7 separate regions of the Homo sapiens genome follow, and regions 1, 2, 4, 5, 6 and 7 are each linked to region 3. The links are contacts of gene promoters, found by promoter capture Hi-C in blood cells and fetal thymus (Javierre and others, 2016). All regions are on one chromosome and are shown on one strand. Each heading gives the region's core, a stretch centred on a gene start or on the middle of the fragment in contact. The rest is flanking DNA. Distances are from core to core; before and after follow the strand shown.

Evidence for each region. The method cuts DNA at HindIII sites, captures the fragments that hold promoters and counts their contacts. A CHiCAGO score of 5 or more calls a contact.
Region 1: a fragment that was not itself captured here is called in contact with the fragment with the promoter of ZNF160 in region 3 in 1 of 17 cell types (fetal thymus); the score reaches 7.7 in fetal thymus.
Region 2: a contact is called between a fragment that was not itself captured here and the fragment with the promoter of ZNF160 in region 3, in 1 of 17 cell types (total CD8 T cells). The highest score is 8.2, in total CD8 T cells.
Region 4: a contact is called between the fragment with the promoter of ZNF528 here and the fragment with the promoter of ZNF160 in region 3, in 12 of 17 cell types (naive CD8 T cells, activated CD4 T cells, non-activated CD4 T cells and 9 more). The highest score is 12.4, in naive CD8 T cells.
Region 5: a fragment that was not itself captured here is called in contact with the fragment with the promoter of ZNF160 in region 3 in 1 of 17 cell types (non-activated CD4 T cells); the score reaches 5.3 in non-activated CD4 T cells.
Region 6: a fragment that was not itself captured here is called in contact with the fragment with the promoter of ZNF160 in region 3 in 1 of 17 cell types (neutrophils); the score reaches 5.7 in neutrophils.
Region 7: a contact is called between the fragment with the promoter of ZNF480 here and the fragment with the promoter of ZNF160 in region 3, in 11 of 17 cell types (neutrophils, non-activated CD4 T cells, naive CD8 T cells and 8 more). The highest score is 15.4, in neutrophils.

Annotation. Positions count from the first base shown.
Region 1 is chr19:52,531,660-52,535,013 of GRCh38, forward strand. ZNF808 (zinc finger protein 808) reads left to right here. Exons shown (of 5, transcript NM_001039886.4): 2 at 1,249-1,350. Among named protein-coding and RNA genes, the nearest start is that of ZNF808, 5.7 kb to the left of the region's middle. The HindIII fragment of the contact is 1,779 bases long and covers 817-2,595 here.
Region 2 is chr19:52,133,459-52,136,835 of GRCh38, forward strand. All of the region lies in intron 1 of ZNF616 (zinc finger protein 616), which reads right to left. It also overlaps the pseudogene LOC124904799. Among named protein-coding and RNA genes, the nearest start is that of ZNF616, 4.8 kb to the right of the region's middle. The HindIII fragment of the contact is 4,618 bases long and covers 1-3,377 here.
Region 3 is chr19:53,102,038-53,105,210 of GRCh38, forward strand. It overlaps ZNF160 (zinc finger protein 160), which reads right to left and starts at 1,385. Exons shown (of 6, transcript NM_001322131.2): 1 at 1,228-1,385. RefSeq lists a silencer at 1,428-1,837. The HindIII fragment of the contact is 3,069 bases long and covers 1-2,627 here.
Region 4 is chr19:52,395,723-52,399,208 of GRCh38, forward strand. It overlaps ZNF528 (zinc finger protein 528), which reads left to right and starts at 2,127. Exons shown (of 7, transcript NM_032423.3): 1 at 2,127-2,182; 2 at 2,645-2,897. It overlaps ZNF528-AS1 (ZNF528 antisense RNA 1), which reads right to left and starts at 2,035. Exons shown (of 7, transcript NR_125345.1): 1 at 1,740-2,035; 2 at 1,473-1,545; 3 at 888-1,030; 4 at 643-777; 5 at 1-28. It also overlaps a transcript of ZNF880 not described here. RefSeq lists an enhancer at 1,439-2,638. The HindIII fragment of the contact is 5,447 bases long and covers 1,702-3,486 here.
Region 5 is chr19:52,165,264-52,168,532 of GRCh38, forward strand. ZNF836 (zinc finger protein 836) reads right to left here. Exons shown (of 5, transcript NM_001102657.3): 3 at 2,795-2,889. The coding sequence starts at 2,809. Among named protein-coding and RNA genes, the nearest start is that of ZNF836, 4.7 kb to the right of the region's middle. The HindIII fragment of the contact is 4,474 bases long and covers 1-3,269 here.
Region 6 is chr19:52,271,378-52,274,919 of GRCh38, forward strand. All of the region lies in intron 1 of ZNF766 (zinc finger protein 766), which reads left to right. It overlaps LOC124904763 (a long non-coding RNA gene), which reads right to left. Exons shown (of 4, transcript XR_007067331.1): 3 at 458-596. Among named protein-coding and RNA genes, the nearest start is that of ZNF766, 3.6 kb to the left of the region's middle. The HindIII fragment of the contact is 2,716 bases long and covers 815-3,530 here.
Region 7 is chr19:52,295,336-52,298,789 of GRCh38, forward strand. ZNF480 (zinc finger protein 480) reads left to right here and starts at 1,834. Exons shown (of 5, transcript NM_144684.4): 1 at 1,834-1,888. ZNF766 (zinc finger protein 766) reads left to right here. Exons shown (of 4, transcript NM_001010851.3): 4 at 1-711. RefSeq lists enhancers at 1,896-1,945, 2,016-2,065. The HindIII fragment of the contact is 10,959 bases long and covers 1-3,454 here.

The sequences.
Region 1 (3,354 bases), core at 456-2,955, 570 kb before region 3:
TATTTTTGATGTTTTTATTGTGCAATTTGTTTTATACAATGTTTTCTGTGATCTCAGTTTATAAATTTTCCCAGTACACATTCTATGTTTTATATTTTACACACAGTAACTAGATAACTAAGGGCAATGAATATATATAAAATTGCTGTATTGCCTGGTGTTATGTAACTGTACTTGTGACATTGTAATTGCACCCTCTGACACTGTTAGTCAGTTCTTATTCCTTTTAATGCTGTGTATTTACTTGAACTCATACATCAGAAGGTAGTGATCTTAACATGTATTTCAGTCTTATAGTGTGTGCTGGTGGTAAGTAGAAGTTGTGGCTTTTTTCTTGAGAGAGAATTGTTTAGAATTCTGCAGGCTGTATAAATGTACTTATTATTTGCTTGCTGGTTTTATCATGGGTTAGAATAGTTTACTGATTAATATTTAAGATTTCACATATGGCTTTTCAGTATATGATATGTAATGGAACTGACACACTGCACTTGTTAATTTCAATAAGTGCCTGTTCTGCGTGGATTTAGGTAATTTTATGACAGGTATTCAGAAAAAGGTTGTATTAACATTTTTTTTTTTTTGAGATGGAATCTCGCTCTGTCACTCAGGCTGGAGTGCAGTGGCACAATCTTGGCTCATTGCAATCTCTGCCTCCCAGGTTCAAGTGATTCTTGTGCCTCTGCCTCCTGAGTAGCTGGGACTACAGGTGACCGCCACCACGCCTGGCTGATTTTTGGAATCTTTTCTTATCTTCTCTGTGCTACGATTATTTGATAATACAGAATTTCAATTGATTTTGGTTACCCTTACATAAGCTTCTGGTGGATTATTTACCAATATAATATATTGTGTGGTCTTTTAGGATTTATTTGTGTACAGTAGATATTGTGTAAATATGAAGGATCTATACTTTTCATTGATGTGACAGTGATATGTTTTTTGCAAACTGTGATACATTTTAGGGTCACAGTGGAAAAATACTCCTTACTTTAGGCTTACACATGTTTGTGCCCTGTCAGCGTTTTGTCATATTGGAAATAGGCTTCCATAGAAATGATTTGAAGTACACGTAAAGTATTTATTAAGTATTTATTAAAGAATCTTACTCCTTTTGTGTTCCTAAACTTTGAAGATCATGTTTGGGAAGTTCAAAATAAGTATTGTTTTTTGTGTCATATTTACACATTTCAGTATGTTTTACCTTCTGGACTTAATTGGAAACGTATTGGTGTTTATATTTTGTAGATATCTCTTCCAAATGCTTGATGAAAAAGGTGGAAGGGTCACTTGACCCAGGGAGTTGAAGGCTGCAGTGAGCCCTGTTTTTGCCACCACACTCCAGCCTGGGTGAGTGAGCTACACCCTATCTCAAACAAACAAGCCAATAAATGAGAGGTATAATTCCTCCTTTGAAATTAAAGAAGGAGATTTTCTTTCCTTTCATCTCTTTTCTTAGGACATTTATTAGAAAATTTGCAAGTGCATTTTCTGTTTTCTGAGGTAGTATGTTTTCTTTCTTTTCTTTTGTTTAATTTTCTTTTATTTCCTTTTCTGTTGTTTTCTTTTCTTTCCTTTCCAACGGAGACACAGTTTCGCTCTTGTTGCCCAGGCTGGAGTTAAATGGTGCGATCTCGGCTCACTGCAATTTCCATCTCCCAGGTACATGAGATTCTACTGCTTCAACTTCCAGAGTAGCTGGGACTACAGGCACCCGCTATAATGCCTGGCTAATTTTTATAGTTTTGTAGAGACGGGGTTTCACCATGTTGGCCAGGCTGGTCTTGAACTTCTGATATCAGATGATTCTCCAGCCTTGGCCTTCCAAAGTACTGGGATTACAGGTGTGAGCCACTGCGCCCGGCCCAGGGATGTATTTCTGAAGAACTTGGGAGCTCCTTGAAAGGCAAACAACAGCCACGCGCAGTGGCTCACGCCTGTAATCCCAGCACTTTGGGAGGCCAAGGCGGGTCAATCCCGAGGTCAGGAGTTCGACACCGCCTGACAAACATGTTGAAACCCTGTCTCTACTAAAAATACGAAGAAATTAGCCGGGCATGGTGGCACATGCCTGTAGTCCCAGCTACTCAGGAAAATTGTTTGAACCTGAGAGGCAGAGGTTGCAGTGAGCCAAGATTGTGCCACTGCACTGTAGCCTGGGTGACAAAGTGAGACTCCGTCTCCAAAAAAAAAAAAAAAAAAAAAAAAGGCAAGCAACAAGATAGATTGTACCTGTGTCTCAGTAGGAAATTAAGTAATTCAAACATCAAATGATTCCAATTTAAAGCTATGGACATTTAAATAATTCTGAGCCTTGAGAGGAATGTGGTCATGCAACCAGAGTCTAGTGGAATGCAGGTGCAACTTCTAGGAGTTTTCCTGGCTGACTGTCATGGCTCAAGCCTGTAATCACAACACTTTGGGAGGCCGAGGCTTCCGGATCACTTGAGGTCAGGATTTCAAAACCAGCTTGGCTAGCGTGGTGAAACCCTGTCTCTACTAAAAATAGAGAGAAATTACAGGCGCCTGCCACCATGCCCAGCTAATTTTTGTATTAGGCTTAGTGTTAGGGTTTCTCCCCCTCCCTCGGGATGAAGCTTGTTAGCTGACAGAGATGGTCACCTCCATTACCAAGTAGAGCCAGGATGAACTATGTGTGACCAAGGGCTTTTCAAGTCCTCTTCCCTGAGGACTGATTACTGTTTATCTTGAAAACATGTCCTTAATGGGTTGTATAGAACACTGAAGTTTCTTTCTCTCTTTTCAACCTCTTAGCTGTTTGCCTCTATTTCCCATCACATTCTGGTCTAAAGCTTATTTATTAATGAAGTAGTTTTTCTTTCTTTCTCTATTATCGTCGTGGAGATGATTTCTCATTTGGGGGAAGACTCTTTGTTTTTCAATTATATTTTCTCACATTTAAAAAGTGAAGTAAAGAATATTTCCTGGGCCAGGCATGGTGACTCACGAGTGTAATCCCAGCACTTTGGGAGGCCGAGGCTGGCGGATCACTTGAAGTCAGGGTTCTAGACCAGCCTGGCCAACATGGTGAAACCCCGTCTCTACCAAAAATATGAAAGTTAGCTGGGCATGGTCGTGTGCGCTTGTAATACCAGCTACTCGAAAGGCTGAGGCAGAAGAATAGCTTCAACCCAGGAGGCAGAGGCTGCAGTGAGCCACGATCTCGCAACTGCACCCCAGCATGGGCCACAGAGAAATACTCTGTCTCAAAAATAAAAGGAAAGAAAAAAGTAAAAAAAGAGAAAGTAATAGATCTCTTTCACAAATGTGCTGGGACAACTAACTGGATATTTACATGGAAAAGAATAATATTGGATCTCTATGTCACACCAT
Region 2 (3,377 bases), core at 878-3,377, 970 kb before region 3:
GCCTGGTTCACAGGTAAACGGGTCATGGGGGTTTGTTGTATACATTATTTCATCACCTGGGTTTTTGTGTGTGTGTGTGAGACAGAGTCTCGCTCTGTCGCCTAGGCTGGAGTGCAATGGCACGATCTCGGCTCACTGCAACCTCCGCCTCCCGGGTTCAAGCAATTCTCCTGCCTCAGCCTCCTGCTGGGACTACAGGCATGTGCCACCACACCTGGCTCATTTTGTATTTTTAGAAGAGCCGGGGTTTCACTGTATTGGTCAGGCTGGTTGCGAACTCCAGACCTCAGGTGATCCGCCCGCCTCGGCCTCTCAAAGTGCTAGGATTACAGGTGTGAGCCACCACGTCTGGCCCCATCACCCGGGTATTAAGCCTAATGTCTATTAGTTATTTTTCCTGATCCTCTCCCTCCTCCCACCCTCCACCCTGAGGTAGGCCCCAGTGTGTGTTGTTGCCCTCTACGTATCCATGTTTTCTCATCATTTACCTCCCACTTATGAGTGAGAATACGCAGTATTTGGTTTTCTGTCCCTGTGTTAGTTTGCCAAGGATAATCGCCTCCAGCTCCACCCATGTCCTGGCCAAGCGCATTATTTTGTTCATTTTTATGGAAAGGCCGTTGTTTTGTACGAGCCTCCCGCACTACCAGACCAAGCCAGAATGAAGTCTCTCATGCTAAACGCCACATTAGCAAACTGACCCTTGAAATAAGTCACGTTTAGGAAAAAAGAAAATTCCAAAAAAGAAAACAAGAACAGGAGTTAAAAAATGAATTTGTAATAATTTCCCTCCTTATCACGACATCGTAACAAGGTTTGAGGGAAGCACATCTCACATGAGTGTGAAAACCCAATCATCACATTTATTAACTACAAAAGGATCGAATTTGTTGTGATTTTGTCCTTCAACAATAAGAAACTGGTAAATGTGTTTCTCTAAGTTCGGTGAGCCATCCTAGCAAATTAATCAAACCTTTGGCTGGGGTAGTAGGAATGCCAATTTGGAGTCAGTAGGTCAGAAGTATAGGTGACAACCTACTACTTTCGAAATGGTAGCTGAAGTGAGCCGGGGAGGTCTTGTGAGACTGAGCCCTTTACCTGTGGGCAACCTGTGGGAGATGACTCTAACTCCAGGTAGACAGTGCCAGAATTAAATTGAATTCTAAGGCAATCTAGCTGTTGTCTGCTGGAGAATTTTTTAGTGTGTAGGAGAAAACTCCCCAACACTGGCCACAGAAGAGTTCTGTGTTAAGTGTGAGAGTAGAAAGGAAAAAATTTGTTTTTTCCTTTACACCCTGCAATTACTAGGCCTGTCATTCTCCAAAGAGCATTACCCATCCTCTCCCCAAACTGCCTCCCCAGCACCTAGTGGACCCTCTTGCCTGGAGAAAATATCCCTGTTCCACACTGAGTTTAAAGCATTTTGCCTCGTAGCTCCCTGTGATTGTTGCAGCAGACAGAGGTGGGGGGAAAGTAATCACCACTGTCCTGGCAGCGAGAAAGTAACAGCTGTATCTTCCGAGGACAGTCCCAGTTGAAATCTTTGTGCTGCAGGTCGTTGTGATATCATATTCTCTGATTCTTTGAAAAATCTTCCCTAAGCCACCATCCTGCCATAGACCCACCACAGAAAACCCTCCCTAACGAAAGCCTTTTGTCACTAGAGTTTGAGGCCCTAACGTTCCCCTCCTAAACTGAGACAGGTTTACAAACTTCCTTGGGGTCCACACCCTTCCCAGATACTCCATAGTGCTCCCCATATCGTGCTACGAAATCCCACATGCCCCAACAACTCATAAACTCCTGCTGACCTAATACACACAAAGATACCTGAGGACTCAATGACCCAAGACACTCGATTCCATTCATAATGACCCCACCCTTGAACACTGGCACCACCATCTACTAAAACAGATGTCTCCAATGATGCACATACCCCAGTGAGACCCAACATCTTCCAAGGAAACTCTCCATATTGACATTTAGATAGTCCAAAATGCATCTATAACCATCTTAACTTGCCGCCCAAAATACTCCAAAATAACAAATGTAGCCCCCAAAGTGATGGACCCCACAGAAGTCACTATGGAGAGTGCCTGCTGTGCTGCAGCTCTGGGTTCCATGCCCTCAGGACCAATGCACCACCACTCCAGCTGCCCACTCTCCCCGTGGGCTCAGCTTAGGACTTGCTCCTCAATTCAGCTGACCCTTGAACAATACAGCTTTGGATTGTGTGGCTCCTTTCAATAAAATTTTCCTCAATAAACATCCTGAAGAATATTTTGGAGATTTGCAGTATTTTGTTGGCTGTACAACAAGAAGGCCTGGACAATGAGAAGTTGTTCCTTAAGTCAGGAAGGGAATGCCTTTTAAAGTTCTTTGATGTTGGGCCGGGCACAGTGGCTCATGCCTGTAATCCTAGCATGTTGAGAGGCCGAGGCAGGCAGATCTCTTGAGGCCAGGAGTTCAAGATCAGCCTGGCCAACACAGTGAAACCCCATCTCTACTAAAAACACAAAAAATTAGCTGGGCATGGTGGGACATGCCTGTAATCTCAGCTACTTGTGAGGCTGAGGCATGAGACTCGCTAGAACCCAGGAGGCAGATGTTGTAGTGAGCCGAGATGGCGCCCCTGCACTCCAGTCTAGGCAGCAGAGTAAGACTTTGTCTCAAAAAAAAAAAAAGCGGGGGGGGGACAGGGGGCAAAGGACCTGAACATTTTGCAAATAAGACATACAAATGCCAGGCACGGTGGCTCACGCTTGTAATCCTAGCACTTTGGGAAGCCGAGGCGGGCAGATCACCTGTGGTCAGGAGTTCAAGACCAGCCTGACCAACATGGTGAAACCCCCGTCTCTACTAAAATACAAAAATTAGCCAGGCATAGTGGCAGGTGCCTGTAATCTCAGGTGCTTCGGAGGATGAGGTCGCAGTGAGCTGAGATCACGCCATTGCACTCCAGCCTGGGCAACAAGAGTGAGACTCTGTCTCAAAAAAAAACATACAAATGACCAACAGGTATATGAAAAGGTACTCAAGATCGCTAATCATCAGGGATATACAAATCAAAACCACCATAAGCTGTCACCTCATACCTCTTAGGAAGGCTATTATCAAATAGGCAAGAGAGGTGTTAGCAATGATATGGAGAAAAATGAGCCCTTGTACACTGCTGCTGGGAGTGCACATCAGTACAGCCATTATGAAAAACACTATGGATGTTCTTCAAAATATTCAAAATAGAACAACAATGCAATCCAGCAATCTCATTTCTGGGTATAAATCCAAAGGCAATCCAATCAGTATGTTTAAGAGACATCTAGGCCAGGTGTGGTAGTTCATGCCTATAATCCCAGCACTCTGAGAAGCTGAGATGG
Region 3 (3,173 bases), core at 135-2,634:
CAGCCTTTTTCCCCTTTTATCTTCCCCCTAGGATTCTGACGATGTTGTGCCTCTTTTTTCTTCTGCTGTTTCTCCCTTCTTTGTTTTTTCCCCTTATATCTGTTCTACTCCATTCTTCCAATTTGTTTCACCTCTTGTGGCGTTTTCTTTCCAATCTTTTCATCGTCCCAATCTCCATCTATTTCTGCCTCTTTCTTACCCCATCTCCGCGCCTCCTCTGCTCTCCCTGTTAAATCCCCTCTTCCCTGTTACACCCGCTTATCCCCACTCTCTGGCACTCCCAGATCCCAGGCCTCCCTGTGTTGTGGTGCTCCCTCTGCTCGCCTTGTCACCAGCTGTCCCCTCCAGCTGTCCCAGCACCACGCAGCTCTGTCTGCCCTCGGCCAAATCCTTTCTCCTCTCCCCCACTCTCTGTCTGAGGAGGCTCCTTCTTTGCTGTCCCTCTCCTTATCTTGTTGTCCTGCATCTCGGGACATCGAGCTTTTCTCTACATTTCGCCAATTGCTTTTCTGCCCCTGCTACTTTCTTGACTGCTTCTTTCACTCTGTCGCTGCAAATCTCTCACCCATCCTCCACTTTGCCATCTGTTTATGGGTCTCCCTCATTTTTCTTTTCTCTTTCTTGGTTTTTCCATCTCCTCTCAGTGGCTCTTTGTCTCTCTTTCTCCTGATTCCCTTGGGCCACACATTCACTGGAGGGTTTGTAGTAAGATGTCTGCATGTTGGAGGAGTACATTTTCCAGGGGGTGGAGCTGGGCAGGCAAAAACACCGGGTGTCACAGGACGGGCCCCGGGCACCTCCCCAACGAGGGCTCAAGGGAAGCGGTGACTGCGAAGGGGAGGCCTGGGGAGCAGCAGGGCCCGGCACGAGGAGGAGGGAGGTGGGGGGCGACGGCGCCTTAGGACAGGGGTGGGATGTGCAGGATCCCAGGACCAGGCGGAGGCGCGGCCTCCCCGGGACTGGGTCGGCGGCGCTGCGCTCCAGGGGCCGACGAGAGCGAGGCTGGGAGGCGCCCAGGGCAGGCGGTGAGGACTTTAAGCGATGCGGGGCGGGAGGAGGAGTCAGTAAAGGATTTTAAGCAGGAAAATCCTGCTTAAACGTTTAAAAAACCGGGAAAGGCCGTGTTTACTTGGCCCAAGGCAGAAAGACCGGGGGCAGGGACCAGCCTCAGGGCGACTTTAACCCAAAAGGAAGCGTCTCCGGGCCCACACAGCAAGGCCTATTTACCTGAGGTGGAGGGTGCGGTGCGGAGATTTTAAGTCCGTAGCGACCCCCGGGCATCGGGTGTGCGAATGGGGGACGGCGAGGCGCAGGTTGAGTCTACACAGAGGAACACTCATACGCCATGGTGTGATGCTTGCTCCGCACGATCCACTTCCGGGTCTGTGGGCAACTGCGCGAAGGAAAGCGACCGAGCGGCCCGGGGCGGGGTCCGAGATGGGCGGAACCGGAAAAGGGCGGGGCGTTGAGAGAGCCGGGCTGAAGCAGGGGCCGCCAGGCAGGGACCCCAGGGAAGGAACGGGGAGGAGCCACCGGGGAGGGGTGGGGAGTGACCAAGTGGAGGGACCCGGGGGCGGGCCGGGGAGGAGCCGCCGGGGAAGGGCGGGGAGGAACCGCGGGAAGGGACCGCGGGGGAGGAAGGCGAAGGGACCGCGGGGGAGGGAGGCAGAGGGACCGCCAGGAAGGGACCCGGGGGAGAGGCGGGGCTGGACGGGACACGTTAGGGTCTGCGATTTCGTGTGATGCCCACAGCCCAGCGCCCAGAGCCATCTGTAGTGTCTTGTGGAACGGCGTAGATGTTTCAAACGGTTTCAAGTTAAAAGCACAGTTGTGTAGGTTATTTTGGAAACCAAACTGCTTTCCTCTTAGAATGGAGGCGGTTTATGTTGAAAGCATTTTTTGCTAGCGCGTTTACCCAGTAATGTTATTGACGCTGAAGCAGCCCAGGAGTCTGGGAACATGGGTTGACACGGAGCGGTGATGGCATGCTGGAAAAGTTTCTGCGATTAAAATTAAGTAATTTAAAAGCCCTGAAATTAGCAGTAACTTTTAAAAAATAGATATAAATTGCATTGTCCTTTTTTATACTTACTATTCTATTCCGTGCGAGATGACAACCTCAAACGCCTATACTTTTTTTTTTTTTTTTTGAGCCGGAGTCACGCTCTGTCGTCCAGGCTGGGGTGCAGTGGCATGATCTCTGCTCACTGCAACCTCGGCCTCCCGGGTTCAAGCAATGCTCCTGCCTCAGCCTCCCGAGTAGCTAGGATTACAGGCGCCCGCCACCACGTTCTTTAGCGGAGATGAAGTTTCACCATGTTGCCTAGGCTGGTCTCGAATTCCTGACCTCAAGTGATCCACCCGCCTCAGCCTCCCAAAGTGCTGGGATTACAGGCGTGAGCCACCATACCTGGCCCCAGGAACTACTTTCACCTACTGAATATATATTAAGTCCTTTGCCACAAAAAGATAATATACATAATTTATCTCAGAACAATTAAGATATTTACCACTGTAAATGACAAATTCAGACTTAGAGAAGGAAGATTTTATTCAAAAGGACTATTGCAATAGAGAGAATGTTCCAATCACAAGATCTGAAAATGTCCAAGAGACACAAACTAAAAAGCTTTTTTTTCTTTTTTTCATATATGGAGGAGTAAACAAGGCTAGAAAGCACAAGCACAAGTTATGAGGCTGTGGATGAGCACTTGGCATGACTACAGTTATTCAGGGAAAGTTTGTTATGTTATGTTATGTTATGTTAAAAATGTTACATATTTCTTGGAGAGAGTCTTGCTCTGTCACCCAGGCTGGAGTGCAGTGGCGTCATCTCTGCTCACTGCAACTTTTCATCTACCAGGCTCAGGCAATCCTCCCACCTCAATCTCCCCAGTAGCTGGGACTACAAGCACACGTCACCATGCCTAGTTAATTTTTGTACTTTTTGTAGAGACGGGGTTTCGCCATGTTGCTCAGGCTAGACTCGAACTCCTGAGCTCGAGGGATCCCCCACACCTTGGCCTCCCAAAGTGCTGGGATCACAGGCGTGAGCCACCGTGCCCGGTCTATTTATTTTTTGAGAGAGCATCTTGCTCTGTTGCCCAGGCTAGAGTGCAGTGTCAAGACCATAGCTCACTGCAGCCTTCAACTCTGGAATCAAGTGATCCTCC
Region 4 (3,486 bases), core at 877-3,376, 710 kb before region 3:
ATGCTCCAGGGATGCATGGCACGTTGGCCTAAAGCAACAAAGGGGATCCTGTTCTGGGGATCTGGAACACATCCTGTCCTTTTCTCACCGGTCCCTTCCTCTCAGGATGTTGCTTTTCCAGCACATTCTATATTCATTCTTGGGAACTACAAGTGAGAAGTCAGATGCAACTGGGCCAATTCAACCCCACTTGAATGCTGTCCTGCAGTCTCTCCGCCAATCCAGATATCCCTTTTATTTTTATATTTTTTGAGACGGAGTCTCGCTCTGTCTCCCAGGCTGGAGTGCAGTGGCGCAATCTTGGCTTACTGCACCTCCACCTCCCAGATTCAAGCAATTCTTGTGTCTCAGCCTCTCGAGTAGCTGGGACTACAGGCGTGTGCCACCATGCCTGGCTAATTTTTTTTTTTTTTTTTTTTGTATTTTTAGTAGAGACTTCGTTTCACCATGTTAACCAGGCTGGTCTCTAATTCCCGACCTCAGGTGATCTGCCCTCCTCGGCCTCCCAAAGTATTGGGATTACAGGCGTGAGCCACCACGCCTGGCCCAGATATCCCCTTTAATAAAGCTAGTCCATTTACATGTGCACTGACCTCCCTGGATCTGGAGGTAGAGGCTGGTCTCAGGAGATTGAAGTAATACCTCGACTGGCAGAATCTCAGGGCAACATCATTGAGGTACAGCCAGTTGCATTTCACTAGGCTCAAGAGGATTGCTGCCTCAAGCAGGATAACCAGGCCTGCCTGGAGCAGTGCCGTAGTCCAGGATCCCAGTGACCTAGGTGAGAAGTTGGTACTCAGATCAAAGAAAAGTTCTTCAGGTGACCCCACTGTCTGCAGCCAATGGGCCTGCTTGTGGGCCTTATGTATTTGTGTTTCAAAAATAACCTGAGGGCTTGATGTGGGGGTCCTTATCTCCCATGCAAGGTGATTCATGCCTATAATCCGAGCACTTTGGTAGGAGCAGATGGGAAGACTGCTTGAGGCTAGAAGCTGGAGACCAGCCTGGGCAACAAAACCAGACTACATCTCTATTAAAAACAAAGCAACAAACAGTAGAAAATTAGCACAGTGGAGAGGCACAGGCCTTTACTCACAGCTACTCGGCAGGCTGAGACAGGGGGTCACCTGCCCAGGACCCCAGGAAGTCAAGGTTGCAGTGAGCTATGATTGCGCCACTGCATTTCAGCCTCGGTGGCAGAGACCCTGTCTTAAAATTTTAAAAAGTATTAAAAAACTAAGTTGGACCGGGCGTGGTGGCTACTCTGGAGGCTGGGGCAAGAGAATCACTTGAACCCAGGAGGCGGAGGTTACAGTGAGCTGAGTGCCTGCCACTGTACTCCCGCCTGGGGGACAGAGGGAGACGCTGTCTCAAAACAACAACAACAACAAAAAACTACGTCGTTTATGGCTATTTTTATAAGTTACTGGCTTTTTTTTTTTAAAGAATCGGTGACTTATCTTCACACTGGCCTTAGTCCTCCATGCCCAACACGATGTCCCTAGGAAAGTCTCTGGAATTGAGCACAGGGTTGACCTTCACCGTCTAGAGTGAATGGGGAAGATAAATGAAAAGTATTTATCTTCTATGGGCACTGGCATGAAATAGAACATTCTACCCTGGCAGGGTTTTGCATTTCACATTTTAGCTTGCATCATCCCCTTCACAGACAATTCCAAAGTGTGTTAATTCAATTCCTAAAGCTTCCCTTCCCTTCCTCCCTTCCCTTCCCTCCTTACTTTTCTTTCTTGTCCATTTATTTTCGGTTTTTTTCTCTTTCTTTCTTGGTTTTCTTTCTCTTTTTCAACTTCTCTTTCTTTTCTCTTTCTCTTTACTCTCTCTCTTCTCTCTCTTTCTGCTTCCAGGGTAGGTGGGACTTGAAATTCATTTTAATAGAAGGAATTTTCGTGGATATAATCTACAACCGATTTTGCTCTGCGCAGGTAAGATCCGTTTTCAGACCAAAACCCTGAAAACAAGCGCAGCCAGTCAAGCGAACGGAAGCGCAGGCCCGGCCCAGGCTTTGTCCCGGCCCGCCCTGGTCCCAGCCAGTCCGGCCTCTAGGATGCGCGCGCAATTTCGTGCAAACCCGGAAGCGGACCGCGGGGGGCGAACGCCTAGAGCGCAGTTTCCGGTAGACCCGGAAGCCGATTGCAGGGAGAAACTGTTTTCGCAGCAGTGCGTGAGTTTCCCTTTGTCTATGTTAAGTCTAGGCTAGCCAGTTCTTCTCTGCTTCTATACCCGGGAGCTGAGGGGCATGCAGACCTTGAAATCCCGGCACCGCTCCCTCCACCCCGAGTAAATTCAGACATCCTTTGAGAGTCTGGGAGTCGCTTTCTGCGTGTTAAAATCGCTTGGAGGCTGGTCGTGTGCCCGGTCTTTTTGTCATTTACCCACGTAGACACCTCCTATCGTGGGGTTTACCTGCTTCAAATCCTTTAGTAACCCCTACACACGCCCCGCACCACGTAAAATCCTCACTCTCCGTTCCCCTAGCCTCGCCCTTCTTTGCCCCTAGAGCTCAGCGCCCCAACAGGGCACGAGAGGCCTCGTCCTCTGCCCAGACCTGGTTTCTGCAGACTCCACCCCTCTCCTGACCCACTCCTGCCTTTTTGCTCCTTAATCTGGACCCTCTGTTCCCCAGGCCTCCCTTTTCCAGCCACCGGTTCTCCTGACCCCGAGTGTGGGGGGTGACTTCAGTCTCCTGACATCCAGTGTTCTCTCGAGCCAGTTTCCAGCCCACAGAAAATGAGCTCTTCCGGAAGTGGGCATCTTATTCCAATCCCCTCCCTGTGAATGTGTGGAGAAAAAGAGATGGGAACGAGGCAGAGGAAATAGAGAAATTTTGAAAGAGAAATGAAGAATGAGAGACCCATTAACAGAAGGCAAAGTAGAAGGTGAGTGAGGGGTTTGCAGAGGCACAGTGAAAGAAGGTGCCGAGAAAATAGCAGGGGAGAAAAGTAACTGTAAAAATATAGACAAACCTGGGTCTGTAGAAAGACGAAATTCAACAAGATAGGGAAGGCTTCTCAGACAGAGGGGGGAGAGGAGGAGGGATTTGGAGCCAGGTCAGACAGAGCAGCGTGGTGCTGGGACAGCCAGAGGGGGCAGCTGGTCACAAGGAGAACAGGGAGAACCACAGCAGGGGGAGGCCTGGGATCTAAGGGTGCCAGAGAGTGGGGACAGGGGTGTGTAATATCGAAGATGGAATTTAACAGGGAGACCCCAAGGGGAGCTGAGATGTGGGAGGAAAGAGGCAGAAATATATGGAGATTAGGGACAATGAAAGATTGGGCAGAAAGAGGAATAAGAGGTGAAACAAGTTGTAAAAATGGATCAGAACAGGTGGGAGAGAAGGAATAGAGGGAAGAATGGGACAAAGAGAAGAGGAGGGACTCAAAATGAACAGAATCCTAGGGGAAAATAGAGAAAAAAAGAGCTAGGAAAAAAGATGAGAATGAGAGATATGTACAGAATGAGGCAGGG
Region 5 (3,269 bases), core at 500-2,999, 940 kb before region 3:
CTGCCCAACCTGGAGGAAACTTCAGACATCTGTGGTAAAGATAGCATGCATACAGGCAGCCACGGTGACATTCTTTGTAACAGCAAAAAACAGTAAAAGACCCATACGTCTTCATTTAGGCACTGCTCCAAAGAGGATGCAAAACAAACTATTAGTGTTTATTAACATAAAAATATGTACACTTCAAAAACTTGCAAAACAAAACTTCACAGCAGAACATTCACTGAAGAATTGTTTTCTGAAATCTCATAATGACGTGTAAATGCAACTTGACACCTCTCACTGACTCTTGCCACAGAACTTGCAACAGTAGCTCCCCACAGAAACATGAGGGATGGTGGATGATGTGATAGGGAAAGGAACCTGGGTTCCCCCAGGTTGGGCACTTGAAAGAGTGATCGCTTCCTCTAGGATGGTGCATTTCCTGCTTTGCTAGATCTGGCAAGATTCTCCACTACCCTGAGCTGCAAAGCAGCCCTCTCCCACCAACATCACACGAGATTTCTCACTCATTTGAACAAAACCTACTACTATGTTTCTTTTAGATGTTGAAGATCTGGGGAAAATGATAACTCTTTGCATTTCCATTTTCCATTTCATTAATTTGTAGAAATCAAAATAAAATAATCTTCATTCTTTGCTCAATTTTTTTTTACTGCATTCTAGCAGCCATTTCATATTCTGTAGTTAAATTTTCAGAATATATATGCCTTAATGTCCTTTTTTTATTTTTATTTTTATTTTTGGAGACAGAGTCTAGCTCTGTCACCCAGGCTGGAGTGCAATGGTGCAATCTCAGCTCACTGCAACCTCTGCCTCCTGGGTTCAAGGGATTCTCCTACCTCAGCCTCCCGAGTAGCTGGAACTACAGGCATGCGCCACCACGCCAGGCTAATTTTTGTATTTTTAGTAGAGGTGGGGTTTCACTATGTTGGCCAGGCTGGTCTCTAACTCCTGACCTGGTGATCCGCCTGCCTCAGCCTTCAAAAGTGCTGGGATTGCAGGCATGAGCCACTGCGCCTGGCCAATGTCCTTTTTTAAGATTATAAATTTTTTTTTAGCATAAAACTGAAATGTTTCCTTGATGCCCCATGTTTTATGTTTGCTTATAAATTTTATGGTATATATAAGGTATACAACATGATATTACAGTATAGATAGTAAAAAAAGTCACTATGGTTTAACAAATTAACATATCCATCATCTCAGAGGTACCTTTTTTTTTGACAGGAACAGCTAAAATCTAACATAGCATGAATTTCATATATAATAAAATATTATTTTCCTATCATCTTCATGTTGTACCAACTTCTTTTTTTTTTTTTTTTGAGACGGAGTCTCGCTCTGTCGCCCAGGCTGGAGTGCAGTGGCACGATCTCGGCTCACTGCAAGCTCCACCTCCTGGGTTCATGCCATTCTCCTGCTTCAGCCTCCCAAGTAGCTGGGACTACAGGCCCCCGCCACCACGCCCAGCTAATTTTTTTTTTTTTATTTTTTAGTAGAGACGGGGTTTCACCTTGTTAGCCAGGATGGTCTCGATCTCCTGACCTCGTGATCCGCCCGCCTCGGCCTCCCAAAGTGCTGGGATTACAGGCGTGAGCCACCGCGCCCGGCCTGTACCAACTTCTTAATGCCTCAACTGCATCTCTGCTTGGACTTTTACTGCAAACAAATATATTATGTGATGTTTAAAATAAAAGAAATATGATGTTCAGTAATAACTGGTGGAATGAGAGAATTTGGCTCCATCTTCTCTAATAACAAAGGAGTTCTGCTCCTACATCTGAGCAAAATTATAACCTTTTTACATAAAACAACTGCGAAGAGTCCCAGCATGAACACCGCAGTCTCTGTGGGACGGATACAGTGACAATGGCTAAAAGAATCTGACATTCAGGTTGATTTTATATTTTAAAATCAATGATGGGCCAGGCACGGTGGGTCACACCTGTAATCCCTGCATTTTGGGAGGCCGAGGCGGGAGGATCACCTGAGGTTGGGAGTTCTAGACCAGCCTGACCAACATGGTGAAACCCCATCTCTACTAAAAATACAAAAATCAGCCGGGCGTGGTGGCGCATGCCTGTAATCCCAGCTACTCAGGAGGCTGAGACATGAGAATCACTTGAACCAGGGAGGTGGAGGTTGCAGTGAGCCGAGATCACACCATTGCCCTCCAGCCTGGGCAACAAGAACGAAACTCCGTCTCAAAAAAAAAAAAAAAAAAAAAAAAATCAATGATAAAATAAACACCCTCTATCACTGACGTGTGTATCTAATTGTCCATTCCATTCCCAGTCATTAAGATTTTGAAGTTAGAAACAGTGATTAATTCATACACCTTCAAATGTAGTATAAAATTAGGCAGAAAAGATCTCCCCTCATAGGTCTCTTTTCCAGAATTTATGAGGTATCGTGCACATTAATATGTGACTTCCGTGTGCAGCTTCTCTACTTCTGGTCTACAGAGAGCTGACTGCATCCTGATTTTGCCTCTAAACAATCTCTGCTGCCAACAGCTCTGACATTGTGGGGCCCATACCCCGTCTCCATCCGTGTCTGGGTGTGAGTCTCTCCCAGGACCATGCCCAGTGGAGCCTCTTCCCAAGTTAATGTCACTGGGTCGCAGTGAGATAGAAGCTAAATGAGATGAGAGAAACTGAGGGAAGGCATGGGTGAATGGCAGCAAACGTGTCAGGCAGGATGCTTCAGACTCAGAGGAGATTCGCAACTCCAATGTGTCGCATTTCAAAAAGGAAGGAGACAGAATGATCCACTAAGAATATCATTTTACCTGTGTAAGAGCCATCCCTGACTCCTTTTCTTTCCTCTTCTTCCTCTTCTGGGCTTCTCTCTCAGTCAATATAATTAATTCTTTACAAGTCAAATCTGAAAGTGAAAAATCTGTTGTTTAATGCTTGGAAACAACACATTCCTTTCTGCGCTACAACCATGCCCACAGGGAAGACCTCAGCATGTGGAGAGACAGCCCACTGCACCAGGGGGATGCAAGGATAATAAATTCCTAAACAAAGACCAAGTGTCCTGGCATGGTGGCTCACGCCTGTAATCCCAGCACCTTAGGAGGCAGAGGCGGGCAGATCAACTGAAGTCAGGAGTTTGAGAGCATCCTGGCCAACACAGTGAAACCCTGTCTCTACTAAAAATACAAAAATTAGCCGGGTGTGGTGGCATGCACCTGTAGTCCCAGCTACTCAGGAGGCTGAGGCAGGAGAATTGCTTGAACCTGGGAGGCAGAGGTTGCAGTG
Region 6 (3,542 bases), core at 923-3,422, 830 kb before region 3:
TCAGTATGCGGAAAAACACGTGCACATTTCCATCTCAACCAGTAAAGGGAAGAGATCTCCAACCGGCCCACCCACCTGTCTCAGGGCCTGTGATCTCTACTCAGTAGTAACTGGGAATGGTCTGTCCCTCCCCCTGGCTGTTGCTGACCCTGCGATTGTGCACCAGGTGCCAGCCCTACTCACAGTCTCAGGACAGTGTGACATCCTTCCTCTGGCATCACCAATATTTACTTCAAGGGATTACTTTGGTTAGTGCACCCACATGGAGGTATTGTCCATGAAAACACACACAGACACACTGGCTGGGTGCGATGGCTCACGCCTGTAATCCCAGCACTTTGGGAGGCCAAGGCGGGTGGATCACTTATGGCCAGGAGTTCCAGACCAGCCTGGCCAGCACGGTGAAACCCCATGTCTACTAAAAATACAAAAATTAGCTGGGTGTGGTGACACGTACCTGTATTCCCAGTTACTCCGGAGGCTGAGGCAGGAGAGTCACTTGAACCCAGGAGGTGGAGGTTGCAGTGAGCCGAGATGGAGGTTGTAGTGAGCTGAGATCATGCCACCGCACTCCAGCCTGGGTGACAAGAGTGAGACTGTCTCAAAAAAAAAAAAAAAAAAAAAGCACAGATGAAGCCTTCATTTTCTTGCCACTCCTCCATGATTAAAATAAAAAATATTCTATTAATTACATCTCTCCCTGTAGTGAGTACCCCTCTTCAACGCTCCATTTGAGAACACAGTACACTAAAATCTTGTTTATATTTCTGTCTTCAGTCTTGCCTCCAGTTCTTGATTTACCCCCTTCCAATTAAGCTTTCACCTCCACCATTCCTTTGATCCTTTTTTCCCAGAGGTACCAGTGATCTCTGTGTTTCGAAGTCCAATTTTGAATTTCCTATCCTCATCTTTTCGTCTTAGCAACATGTTGCACAGCTGATCATTCCCTGTTCTTTTTTCTTAGCTTTGAAGACATCTCTAAGTTTAATTACTTTGTTTCAGATTTTTGTGTTACCAGTTTCCTCTGCTGGTGTCTCCTGAAGCTGTCTTCTCTGAATGTGGGAGTGTCCCATGATTTAGGTCTTTTTCATTTTTGTTTTTGTTTTTAAGACACGGTCTCAGTCTGTCACCCAGACTGGAGTGCAGTGGTGCAATCATAGCTCCCTGCAGCCTTGAACTCCCGGGCTCAGGAGGTCCTCCTGCCTCAGCCTCCCAAGTAGCTGGGACTCTAGGTGCATACCACCACACCTGAGTAATTTTTTTATTTTTTAGTACAGACTGGGTTTCCCTATGTTGAATAGGCTTGGATCTCAAAACTCTTCTCATCTCTTTTCACACACACTACCCTTCCTTATCATCTCATCTCATGGCTTTGAACCCCATCTACCTGTCTCCATGTGCCCTGCAGACCTCTGCCCTGAGGTCTAGAAACCTGTGTTCAGTTGTCCCCTCACTTCTCTGCTGGGACATCTAACAGGCATCTCCACCTTCGTATGTGCCACTTTCTGAACTCCCCCAAATGCATTCCCCTGCAGTCCTGCACATCTCAGATGAGGGTGACCCTGTACTTCCTGGGGCTTAGCTGAACTTGTCATATGTTCAAAATATGTAAGATGTTACATTGTAAATACATTAATATATTTTTTTTTCGAGACGGAGTCTTGCTGTGTCACCAGGCTGGAGTGCAGTGGTGTGATCTTGGCTCACCATAACCTCTGCCTCCCGGGTTCAAGCAATTCTCCTGTCTCAGCCTCCCAAGTAGCTGGGACTACAGGCGTGCACCATCACGCCCAACTAATTGTTTGCATTTTTAGTAGAGATGGGGTTTCATCATGCTGGCCAGGATGGTCTCGATCTCTTGACCTTGTGATCTGCCCGCCTTGGCCTCCCAAAGTGCTGGGATTACAGGCATGAGCCACCATGCCCAGCCTATAAGTACATTAATTTATAACATAAATAATTACATAGTTACTAAAACAGATGAGGAAATTTGTTGTTTCTGAAATTCTTTGGAGGTATGGGAGAGAAATGTTGGTGGCCTCATCCCTGTGTGATCTGCATCCCAGGACCTCTCTGAGCTCATCTCCTCCCTGTGTCCCCCTCGTTCCCTCTGCCGCAGCCACACAGACCTCTTTCCTGGGGCCAGGGTTGCTCCTGCCTCAGGGCTTCCACCTGGGCTGTCCCTCTGCCTGGACATCTCTAGCCTGTCAGCTGCAGGTGCAAACACCTTTTCTTCCCCAGGTCTTTGTTCTGATATTACCTTCTTCATGGAGGGTTCTGTGTTCCTCTCCACCCTACATTTAACACTCCAGCTACACCCTTACCCCTACTGTGGTCCACATTGCCTGCTCTGGATGTTTCTTTCTGCTCTTTTGCTGTCCACTACGTAAATCCTGGTAACAAGACCCAAGGGTAGAGCAGAGCCAGAAGGTGGGGGTGTGCTGGGCTTGCCCCGTCTGAGTGGAGCTCACCCCTGTTTTCACATTGGAGTGCAGATACACATCTTGTGCCCCCAGCCTCTTACCTGAGATTCCCATTCACATACTCAGGTTGGGCCCAGCCTTAATATTTGAAGTTGATTCTACAGTAGTTTCTCCTTATCTGCCAGTGTACTTTTTGAGGTTCCAGTTACTCATGGTCAACCACAGTCCAAGGTATTACGTGGAAAGTTCCAGAAATGAAGAATTCACAAGTTTTCAATTTCTCATCCTTCTGAGCAGGATGATACAATCTCTCACTGTCCCACTCTGTTTTGTCCAGGACTTGAATCATCTCTTTGTCCTGTATGTCCCCCTGTATAGTCATCCCTCGGTATCACGTAGGATTTGCTTCCAAGATCCCCCCAAGACTACCCAAATCAGATGATCTTCAAGACCCTTATATAAAATTGCATAATACAGTCACATGCCACATAAGGACATTTCGGTCAACAGCAGCCCACACCTGTGATGGTGGTTCCATAAGATTACACTGGAGCTGAAAAATTCCCGTTGCCTAGCTACCTCAGAGCAGTCATGACATCATAGTGCAGTGCATTCCTTGTATTTGTGGTGATGCTGGCGGAAACAAACCTAGTGCGTTACCAAACAGCTTTAACCTGGATGTGGAGGAGGATGACATTGAGAATCTCTTAGAGGTGGTTCATGAGGAATGGGTTAATGAGGAGTCATTGGAACTGATACAGGAACATGTAGCTGAAGAAGAGGCAAGAGAATAGGGAACTGGCTGGGCACGGTGGCTCACATCTATAATCCCTGCACTTTGGGAGGCCGAGGCAGGTGGATCACTTGAGGTCAGTAGTGTCAGGAGTGGTGGCACATGCCTGTGGTCCCAGCTACTTGGGAAGCTAAGGTAGGAGAATCACTTGAACCCAGGAGGTGGAGGTTGCAGTGAGCCAAGATCACGCCACTGCACTCCAGCCTGAGCGACAGAGTGAGACTCCATCTCAAAAAAAAAGAATGAGCCAATAGGAAACTGAAGGAGAAAAAGAAAGTACTCTCAAGGCAATTCACAGTTAAAGATATAGCAGAAGCTTTTGCAGA
Region 7 (3,454 bases), core at 584-3,083, 810 kb before region 3:
ACCACACCTGGCTAATTTTTGTATTTGTAATAGAGATGGGGTTTCACCATGTTGGCCAGGCATGGTCTTGAACTCCTGACTTCAGGTGATCCACCCGCTTCGGCCTCCCAAAGTGTTGGGATTACAGGCATGAGCCACCATGCCCGGCCAGATGCTATGCTTAATACATTTTTTCCGAATGTCACTCTAGTGAAAATTTTAGGGGACACAAAAATGAGACTGTTGTTTGGAGACAATATTTTTTGACAAGAGTATGCACAAGACAATGGCAGGTATAAACGTTTTATTGTAAATATGAAAAAGGAAAAAATGCTTTCACTATATTAGAGGACTTGAAGTAACGTGAAGTGATTCCAACCCTTTATCTTTATTTTATTTATTTATTTTATTATTTATTTTTTTGAGATGGAGTTTCACTCTTGTTGCCTAAGCTGGAGTGCAATGGAGTGATCTCAGCTCACTGCAACCTTCACCTCCCGGGAGCATGCTGCTCTATCTTTTTTTTCAGATGTTTGAGCTATTCCAGGTTTTTTGGGATTTCTGTTGGTTTGTTTTGTTTTTTGCTTTTCTACATAATTGTTTGGATAATCTTGTCAGTATCTACGAAGTGCCTTGATAGTAAATATATTAACCCTGTGTATCAATTTGGGGTAATTTCACATTTTTTTCTATGTTGAGTTTATCAATAAATTGATATTGTATATGTCTCTATCTGGGTGTCTTTGATTTCTTTCATCAGCATTTTGTAGTTTTAAAATCCTGAGAATGTTAAATTAACATATTTTTTGACTTTTTTTTTTTTTTTTTGAGACAGAGTCTTGTTCTGTTGCCTGGTCTGGAGTGCAGTGGCACAATCTCAGCTCACTGCAACCTCCGCCTCCCAGGTTCAAGCGATTCTCCTGCCTCAGCTTCCTGAGTAGCTGGGATTACACGCGTATGCCACCATGCCCAGCTAATTTTTGTATTTTTAGTAGAGATGGGGTTTTACCGTGTTGGCCAGGCTGGTCTCGAACTCCTGACCTCAAATGATCCACCTGCCTTGACCTCCCAAAGTGCTGGGATTACAGGTGTGAGCCACCTCGCCCGGTTAATGCTTTTTTAAAACCAACAATTGGTGACCTAAATTCTCACTGGCCTTAGCCCTCCATGCCCCTGGTGCTGTCACTAGAAAACTCTCTGGAGCTGAGCACAGGGTTACCTCTGTCCCTCCCGAAAGAACAGGGAATAGAAAAGGAGAGGATTTCTATTCTGCTTTGTGGGCCGTCAGCATGAAATTGCACATTCTGCCCAGGCAGGGCTTTGCAGTTCATGTATTAACTTGCGTCGCTTTCACAGACAATCCCAGGGCTTAATTAAATTGCTAAATTTAGTTTTTTATGTATTTATTTGAGAGACTGAGTCTCTGTCGCCCAAGCTGGAGTGCAGTGGCCGTCATAACTCAGTGTAAACTCGAACTCCTGGGCTCAAGCGATCCTCCCGCCTCAGTCTTCGGGGTAGCCGGGACTACAGGTGCCCGACCGCACGGTCGGCTTAAGATTAACTTTAATAGCAGGAATTTTCCTGGATCTAATCATTAGCCGACTTTGCTCAGTCCCGGCAAGAGTACAGTTCCGAGACAGCTGAGTTGCTCCAGTCTCCTTGACAGGTCTCCCCGGCAAAACCCGGAAAACAGAGGCACTGGAAGCGAGGCGGAGGGAAGCGCAAGCCCCACTCCGCCCCGCCCCCGCCCCCGCCCCCGCCCCCGCCCCCGCCCCCGCCCCCGCCCCCGCCCCCGCCCCCGCCCCCGCCCCCGCCCCCGCCCCCGCCCCGCTCGGACCCCTCCGCTGCGCGCGCAGTTTCCCACAAACCCGGAAGCGGATCGCGTGGAGTGAAGGTCACGCCGCGGCGCGTGAGTTTCCCTTTGTGTAAATTAATCTGCGCTTCCCAACTCCCCCGCGCTTCTGTACCCGGGATCTGAGGGGCCACACAGACCTTGAAATCCTCGCACCGCTCCCTCTACCCCGACCAAATTCAGGCGTCTCCGTGAGAGTCAGGCGGTCGCTTCCCTGTGTGTTTAAATCGCTCGGCGGCGGGTCCTGTCCCCCGTCCTTCTGCCACAGGGCCATGTAGTCACCTCCTGTCGCGGAGTTTTCCTGTTTCAAGTCCTTCAGTGATGCTTACATCCGCCCCGCACAGCGTAAAGTCCTCCCCCGCTAGGCGGATTCCGGTCTATGCGGTCCCCCAAGCCTCGCCTTTGTTGGCCCTGGAGCACAGCGCTCCAATCTCAATCCAGGAGAAGCCGCGTCTTCTGCCCAGTGCTGGGATTCTGCAGACGCCACCCATCTCTTGATCCAGACCCTACCTTTACCCTCCTTGATACGGGGCCCCGCTACTCCCCAGGCCTCCTCTTCCCAGACACCGCTTCTCCTAACCCTGCGTGTGGGGAGGTGACTTACTCTGTCTCTTGACATCCAGTGTTCTTGCGGGCCAAATAACACCCCACTGAAAAGGTGTTCTGCTTGTGGACATCGGATCCCAATTCCTTCCATGTGAATGTGTGCAGAAAGAGAGACGGAGAGCGAGGGAGAAGAAAGAGAAAAATTTTGAAGGAGAAAAGAAGATTGAGGGAGAGCCGTAAGCAGATGGCAAAGTAGAGAGTGGATGGAGGATTTGCAGAGACAGCGAATGAAGCCGAGAAAGTAGCAGGGGGAAAAAAGCAACTGGAGAAATGCAGAGAAAAGTTCCATCTCCGGAGAGATGAAGGACAGCAAGATAGTGAGAGGGGCAGCAAAGTGGGAAGTTCCTCAGTTTGAGAGTGGGGGAGAGGGGGAGGGATTTGGAGCCAGGGCAGACAGAGCAGCGTGGTGCTGGGACAGCAAGAGGAGTCAGCTGGTGACAACGAGAGCAGAGGGAGAACCACAGCAGGTGGAGGCCTGGGATCTCAGGGTGCCAGAGAGTGGGGACAAGGGGGTGTAACAGAAAAGAAGGGATTTAACAGAGAGAGCAGAGGGGGAGTAGAGTCAGGGGAAGAGGCAAGACCGGGCACAGTGGCTCACGCCTGTAATCCCAGCACTTTGGGAGGCCAAGGTGGGTGGATCACGTGAGGTCAGGAGTTTGAGACCAGCGTGGGCAACATGGTGAAACCCCATCTCTACTAAAAATGCAAAAATTAGCCGGGCGTCAGCGCGCGCGTGTAATCCCAGCTACTCAGGAGGCTGAGGCAGGAGAATTGCTTGAACCCGGGAGGCGGAGGTTGCAGTGAGCTGAGATTGCGCCATTGCACTCCAGGCTGGGCGACAAGAGCAAAACTCCGTCTCAGGGAAAAAAAAAAAAAAGAGACAAATAGGTGGAGAATGGGATGATCAAAGATTGAGCAGAAAGTTTGGAAGAGGGGTGAAACAAGTTGCCAGAATGGAGCAGAACAGGTGGAAGAGAAGGAATAGAAGGAAGAAGGGGAGAAACATCAGGAGAAGAG